Linked DNA regions of Homo sapiens: region 2 is linked to region 1. The links are contacts of gene promoters, found by promoter capture Hi-C in human tissues and cell types (Jung and others, 2019). All regions are on one chromosome and are shown on one strand. Each heading gives the region's core, a stretch centred on a gene start or on the middle of the fragment in contact. The rest is flanking DNA. Distances are from core to core; before and after follow the strand shown. Region 1 holds the start of SHANK1 (SH3 and multiple ankyrin repeat domains 1). Region 2 overlaps LOC105372437 (a long non-coding RNA gene).

Evidence for each region. The method cuts DNA at HindIII sites, captures the fragments that hold promoters and counts their contacts. A contact is called where the count stands out against the background at its distance.
Region 2: a contact is called between a fragment that was not itself captured here and the fragment with the promoter of SHANK1 in region 1, in 1 of the 25 tissues and cell types used here (dorsolateral prefrontal cortex).

Annotation. Positions count from the first base shown.
Region 1 is chr19:50,718,286-50,722,032 of GRCh38, reverse strand. It overlaps SHANK1 (SH3 and multiple ankyrin repeat domains 1), which reads left to right and starts at 2,231. Exons shown (of 24, transcript NM_016148.5): 1 at 2,231-2,627. The HindIII fragment of the contact is 4,964 bases long and covers 1-2,958 here.
Region 2 is chr19:50,346,718-50,350,647 of GRCh38, reverse strand. All of the region lies in intron 2 of LOC105372437 (a long non-coding RNA gene), which reads right to left. Among named protein-coding and RNA genes, the nearest start is that of NAPSA, 17 kb to the left of the region's middle. RefSeq lists an enhancer at 3,178-3,327. The HindIII fragment of the contact is 3,847 bases long and covers 1-3,293 here.

The DNA of each region.
Region 1 (3,747 bases), core at 982-3,481:
GTTTATGTCTGTTCCCTGCCAATGAAAGCAGGGATTTTTATGCACTGATGCATCTCCTAGCACAAGGCCTACCTAGCACATAGTAGGTGTTCAATCAACCTGTTGAGTGGGCGAGAGGGTAGCCGTTCCTGGTGGGGTCAAAGGCCTGGAAGCTTCACCTCTTTGGTTTGCTGGCACCCAAGTTCCCAGGGTGGTGGTGGCAGGGTAGGTAGAGGTGGTGAGGGCAGTGGGAGAGAGGCTTGGAGGCAAGGAAGAACAATGCCATGCCATGCCCCTCTATGTCAGGCCCATGAGTCATGCAGGGCTTTTCCCGCCCAGGCCTGGCTGGTGGTGCCAACAAGCATGGGGCACACCAGCCAAGGATCACTGGGCCTGCTCTTCAAAGGAGGAGACCGAGGCTCTGAAACAGCATAGCCTGCTGGAGGTCACCAGTGTGGCGGCAGCTAGCCAAGGTTTCTGGCTCCAAGAGCAGGGCATCTGCCCTCGGCTGCCGGGAGCCCCAGGAGGGGCCTTGGAAATCAGTGCCTCCAGCCTTCCGTTTTCCAAGAAATCCTGGTACATCGAGGGCACTGTGACCTTGGGCAGACTGCTCCCTGCCTCAGAGCCTGGGCCTCTCAGGTGCCCATCGGGAACCTGGGGCCCCTCACCAGGAGCTACAGACCTCAAGAAATAATGCGTATGTGGGGAAAGGCCTTGTAAAGTGTGCAGGGGTGCACAGCCTCTCTGGCTGCTGGAGCCAACATGGGCAGCTGTGCTTTCCCCGGGCCCAGCTGCTCACCACCTGGGCTAGTGGGTACGCATCAAGATAGAGGCCTCCCCAGGCTGAGCAGGCACCTCCTCCAGCTCATACTCGGGTACCCCGGAGAGCCTGCAGCTGGAGGGGAACCCAGAAGCTGCCTAGAACTGCCCCCTGCAGGCCCTGGAGGTGCTGTTGGAGCTGGGAGAATGAGGAAGCCTGGGCTAAGGGGACACTCACCACTCACTGCTGCCCTGTGGGATCTGCTCTGTCCCTGTGGGTGCGTCCCAGGCATGAATGAGCTGTCTGCCTGCAGCTGGCTGCATATGCGTGCCTACACAGACATGTGCAAACTCTGAGGAGACGGTTGGGTGTGTCTGTGTGTGATGAATAAGGATATGCAACTATGAGGGGATATGCCCAGTAGTGCACCATAGTTGTCAAGTGAGGACTTTGGAGCCAGCCTACCTGTTCCTGATCCTTGTTACCACCTCCTTACAGCTGGATGACCTTGGGCAAGTTACTTAGCCTCTCTGTTCCTTGGTTTCCCCCTCTGGAAAATGGGGATGGCGAAAGTCCCTGAGCCTGGCACACAGAAAGTGCTCCAGGAATGTCAGCAGTAACTATCCTGGAGGGGAAGGATGGCACGGTGTTGGGCATGTAAACGGGTGAGTGCGAGCCAGTGCAATGGACAGCACGGTGGGTGGGTGTGATGGGAAGGCGTGCACACGTCTCTACAGTGCTGTAACTCCGTTTTGGTGTTGAGAGATCTGGGCATGCATACCGGGGTGAACGCCTGTGTGCGTGTGTGCGCGCGCACGTGCGTGTGTGGTGGGCAAATGTGTGCATGTGCTGCGTGTGTGCCCGGGCACAGGGGTGTGACAACTGCATGTAGCTGGGTGTGTTTGTAGCTGTGTACCCCAGGTGCATTGTGTCTGGGCATGCATGCGCTGGAGAGTGTGTGTATGTGGGGACTCTGCAGGTGCCGTTACAGCTGGTGACTATGCACCTGTGCCTTGGGGAAATGTGGCCTGGCCCAGGTATGTCCACGTGTGCCCTGACCCAGTGCTTAAATGGAAAGGGTGTGTGTGTGTTTGGGGGGACAGGGTGGGAATCTATAGCCTTCACACTTAAATTTGGGGGTGTAGAGTCTGGCAACAAATATTTATTGTGCCCCACTCTGTGTAGGGCGGCGGGGAGCTCTCTGGGAGGGGGTGGTCCTGAGGTGTGTGTGGGGGGGCACCTTATGGGGGCAGGACCCCTTCCTCGGGGTATGGGAGCAAGCAGGGGCGGAGTCAGGATTTGGGGACTCGGAGGTGGGGAGGAGTGGTGGGGGAGGGCAAGGGTAGGGGGCGGAGCCGGCGGTGGTGGGGGATGGGCGAGGTTTGGGGGCGCGGGGAGGGGCGATGTCTCCTCCGCCGGCTCCCGGAGGGAGGGGAGAGGGCGGAGGGAGGGGAGGGAGGGAGAGAGGGAGGGAGAGAGACAGGGTGAGGGAGAGACAGCGAGAGCGAGAGAGCGAGAAGGGTGGCAGAGGAGGCGCGGAGCGGGCGGCGGCGGCGGCGGCCCGAGGAAGAGGAGGAGGAAGAGCAGGCGGAGACGCGGCGCCCGGAGCCGGCCGGACCGAGCCGGGGGCGGGCGAGGAGGGGCGCGGCGGCCGCGGCGGAAGGGGGGGCGCTCTGCGGATGGCCAGGCCCGGCCCGCGGGGGGGGTGAGGTCCTCGGCCCTCCCGCCCTCCCCCCCGGTCCCCGCCCGCCCCCTCCCCGGGCCCGCTCGCCCTCCGGGGCGGTGGGGCATGGCCTGAGGGTCCCCGTCTCCGGGGGGGTGGGGGGTGGGGGGAGGGGGGAGGGGCCGCGGGCGCCGCCGACCGGGACTCAGCAGCCCCGCCAGGCAGGTAAGGGGGTCGAGAACCTGGGGGTTTGGGGCAGCTGCGGGGCCGGGGCCGCGGGAGGGGGCGAGGGCGCCCCGGATGTCCTTGGCCCGGCGCCGGGCTCCTGGCCTGGGTGTGCGGCTGGGGGTACGGGTGAGGTGGGGAGCGTTGCCCTGGGCGACACCAAATTGGGTTACGCCCGGGTCCCCGGTGCCCCGTCCCAGATCGCATCCTTGATGGGAGGGCGCGCCCCCCACCCCCGGCCAGCAGAGCCCCTATCCCGAACCCGCCTCCCGGCTCTCCGGGGCCAAGGGCTCGGTCCTGGTACCCGCCTCCCCGCCCAGCCCGGCCACTCCCCCGCCTCGCCCTCCCTGGCGTACCTGGGCCCCTCCGCCAGGTCACCCTGGTCCCCACTCCCCTCCAGCGAGGGTCTAGGCCCGGGCCTCCTCCGCCCCTTTCGACCCCTCCAGCTCCCGCTTCTCCTTCCAGGCTCCTCCAGTCCCTTTCCACCCCTGTCCAAGCTCCCTGCGTCCCCACCAGGTCTCCAGTCCCTACACCGCCGGCCGGCGCGCCCCCTCGGCTCCCGCCCCCGACTCCTGCTCCCCGGTGCCCCCCGCCCCTCTCCCCGGCCGGGTTCTCCCCCACCAGTTTCCCAGCCTCGGCTCCGGCTCTCTCTCCCCGCCCCTCCCCGCCTCCCTCCGCCTCCATTCATTCTCCCCGGCCCCGCTCTCGGCCACGCCAGCCGCCCCCTGTCCCCCCACAGCCTCCCAGGGCACCCCCTCTCTCGCGTCCTCCACCACCCCCCTCGCCGATTCCTCAGCCCGTCTCGGTACCAGCTGCGTGCCAGCTATTCTTAGCCGCGGAGCGTTTGATTCATGCCGCCCCGGCGGAGCGTGCCCGCTCCCTCCCGCGAGCCCTGAGGGGGAGGGGCCGGAGCCGGCCCGGGGGGGCTGGGGCAGCCGTACGCGCGGGGGGCCCTAGCCAGCTTTTCTTTCATCCCACCGGCCACCCCCTCCGAGCGGGGTTGAGGCTGGGGGTCAGCCAGGGTCAGCCGAGGGGGAGTGTCTGCGGGCCCCAGATCGCGAGGTGGGCTGTGCGGCGGGGCAGGGAGGAGGCAGCCGGGGTCTCCGCAGGGACGAGGTGG
Region 2 (3,930 bases), core at 121-2,620, 370 kb after region 1:
GGCAGTACCTCTATGAGTCTGCAAGAACCGTAGCAGACCGGGTGTGGTGGCTCACGCCTGTAATCCCAACACTCTGGGAGGCTGAGGTGAATGGATCACTTGAGGCCCAGAGTTTGAGACCAGCCTGGCCAACATGATGAAACCTAGTCTCTGCTAAAATCACAAAGATTAGCCAGGCGTGGTGGCACACAGCTGTAATCCCAGCTGCTTGGGAGGCTGAGGCATGAGAATCGCTTGAACCTGAGAGGCAGAGGTTGCCGTGAGCTGAGATCATGACACTGCACTCCAGCCTGGGTGACAGAGTGAGACTCTGTCTCAAAAAAACAAAACAAACAAAAACCACAGCATTAATAGGCTTGGGAGGCCCCCTGATACAGATATGGCTTAGATCACAATCCTCAAGTCCTTTTGAATACCTGGAAAGCCTTCCCAAGAAGGACAGGTACAAACAAGTCTACATGCTGCCTGCCGACCTCAGAGTTCTGGGAAGGTGGAGCGAATGAGTCGGACTATCAAAAATAGTTTAAGGAAAGTATGTCAAGAGACAAGATTAAAATGGATACAGGCCCTTCCTATGGTATTGTTTAAAACAGGTGCACCCCCTCTAAGAAAACAGGACACTCCCCTTATGAAATATTATATCATAGGCCTCCTCCTATGCCGCGAGGGCTTCTGGGTACTCCCCAAGAGTTGGGTGAAATTGAATTGCAGCGACAGCTACAGGCCTTGGGGAAAATTACCGAGACAATCTCAACTTGGGTAAATGAGGTGCCCGGTCAGCTTATTCTCCCCAGTTCACCCTTTTTCTCCAGGTGACCGCGTGTGGATCAAGGACTGGAACGTAGCTCCCTTAGGGCCATAGTGGAAGGGACCCCAGACCGTTATCCTGACCACTCCCACGGCTGTGAAGGTAGAAGGAATTCCGGCCGGGATTCACCACAGCTGCGGAAAGCCTGCAGCCACTGGAACCTGGGAGGCCAAACCAGGCCTAGACAATCCCTGCAAAGTAACCCTGAGGAGGACGACAAGCCCTGCTCCAGTCACACCCGGAAGCTGACTGGCCTATTCGCGGCCGAAGCATGAGGAAAATCGTCGTGGGACTTACTTTCCTTATAACACGGACTTGTGTGGTAAAAGCTTCCACTGCTTCTTCCCACACAGAGGACTGCTTTCAGTGCATACCTCAGGTCACTGAGGTAGGACAACAAGTTAAGACAATCTTTTTGTTCTATAGTTATTATGAAGGCCTAGGAATTCCAAAAGGAACATGTTTGTATAATAACACTCAGTACAAAGTCTGTGATCCAGGAAGTGACCAGCCCGATGTGTGCTATGACCCCTCTGAACCTCCCATTTCCACAGTTTTTGAAATAAGATTAAGGACTGAACACTGGCAGGGACTCATAAATGATACAAGTAAAGTATTAGCCAGAACAGAAGAAAAAGGGGTGCCCAAATGCATAATCTTAAGATTTGACGCTGTGCTGTCATTAATAGCAATAAGTTAGGAGCAGGATGTGGCTCTTTTAATTAGGAAAAAACTACATGACCGAAAATAAGTACATCTGTCATGAATCAGGATTGTGTGGAAAAGAATGTGGGTACTGGTCTTGTGTCATTTAGGCTACTTGGGAAAAAAAAAATGAAAAAGATCCTGTTTTGCTCCAAAAAGGGAAAGGAAGCCTGTCCTGCATGAGTGGAAGCTGCAACCCTTTAAAATTAGTAATCACAAGCCCCTCAGACCCAAAATAGAAAAAAGGAAAATACTTATCTCTAGGCATTGATGGAAAAAGACTAGACCCTAGGGTAAACATTTTAATAAAAGGAGAGGTTCGAACATGCTCTCCAGAGCCAGTATTTCACACTTTCTATGATGAACAAAATGTGCCAGTGCCTGAAATTCCAGGAAAAACTAGACATTTGTTTTTGCAGTTAGCCGAGCATGTAGCCCAGTCTCTAAAAGTCACTTCGTGTTTTGTTTGTGGAGCAACTGTAACAGGAGATCAGTGGCCATGGGAAGCCCGAGAATGAGTTCCTACAGACCCAGTTCCTGATGAATTCTCGGCCCAAAAGAACCACCCTGACAATTTCTGGGTTCTAAAAGCCTCAATTATTGGACAATGTTGCATAGCTAGAGAAGGAAAAGAATTCACTCATCCTGTAGGACAGGTTAGTTGTCTTGGACAAAAACTGTATAATGGTACCACAAAAACAGTTACATGGTGGAGTTCCAATTACACGGAAAAAAATCCATTCCGTAAATTTCCAAAATTGCAGACTGTTTAGGCCCACCCAGAATTCCACTGGGACTGGACTGCCCCTACTGGGTTATACTGGATATGTGGACATAGAGCTTATGCTAAGCTATCTGATCAGTAGACAGGTAGCTGTGTAATTGGCACTATTAAACCATCTTTCTTCCTGCTGCCCATAAAAACAACAAACTCTTAGGATTCCCTGTCTATGCTTCCCGTGAAAAACGAAGCATAGCCATAGGTAACTGGAAAGATGATGATGGCCCCCTGAAAGAATTATACAATACTATGGGCCCGCCACTTGGGCATAAGATGGCTCATAGGGATATTGGACCCCCATCTACATGCTCAACTGAATCATACAGTTGCAAGCTGTTTTAGAAATTATTACTAATTAAACTGGTCAAGCCTTGACTGTTCTTGCCCGGCAAGAGACTCAGATGAGGAATGCTATCTACCAAAATAGACTAGCTCTCGACTACTTGCTAGCAGCTGAAGGAGGAGTTTGTGGAAAATTTAACCTTACTAATTGCTGTCTCCACATAGATGATCAAGGGCAAGTAGTTGAAGACATAGTTAAAGATATAACAAAACTGGCACATGTACAGTGCGAGTGTGGCACGGATTTGATCCTGAGGCCATGTTTGGAAATTGGTTCCCAGCAATAGGAGGGCTTAAAACTCTTATAATAGGAGTTATAATAGTAATAGGAATCCGCTTACTACTCCCTTGTTTGCTACCTATACTTCTTCAAATGATAAAAAGCTTCATCACTACCTTAGTTCACCAGAATGCTTCAGCACGAGTATATTATTTGAATCACTATCAATCTATTGCACAGGAAGACATAAGTAGTAAAAATGAAAGTGAGAACTTCCACTAATACCATGAGTGAGAGTCTCAAAGCGGGGAAATGAGAGAAGAGAGAAAGAGACCCCCCCATATTGTTCTATATTGTTTCATACTCAGTACCTGTTTTAAGAAGAAACAAGGAAGCGAAACCAAAGGCAGGCAGCCCGGCGCCATGCACCAGACCCAAAACCAGACCCAAAACCAGGCCTGGGCCTGCCTGACCTTAGCCTGATAGTTAAAATTCAACCCATGACCTAGCAACCGATTATCCATAAATTCCAGACATTGTATGGAAAGACATTGTGAAACTTCTCGTTCTGTTCTGCTTTGCTCTGATTACTGGTGCATGCAGCCCCTGTCACATACCCCCTAGATTGCTCAATCAATCACGGTCCTTTCATGTAAAATCTTTAGTGTTGTGAACCCTTAAAAGCGACAGAAATTGTGCACTCAACAAGCTTGAATTTTAAGATGCTAGTCTGCTGATGCTTCCAGCTGATTAAAAGCTACTTCCTTCACTATCTCGGTGTCTGTGGGGTTTTCTCCACAGCTTGTCCTGCTACACTAGAATAGCATATCCAGTGAAAATATTCTTCAAGCATGAAGGAGAAATAAAGACTCTCCCAGAACAAACAAAGCTGAGGAATTTCATCAACACCGGATCTGTCCTACAAGAAATGCTAAAGGGAGTACTTCAGTCAGAAAGAAAAGCATGTTAATGAGTGATAAAAAATCATCTGGGCCAGACGCGGTGGCTCACGTGTGTAATCCCAGCACTTTGGAAGGCAGAGACATGTGGATCACGAGGTCAGGAGATCGAGAC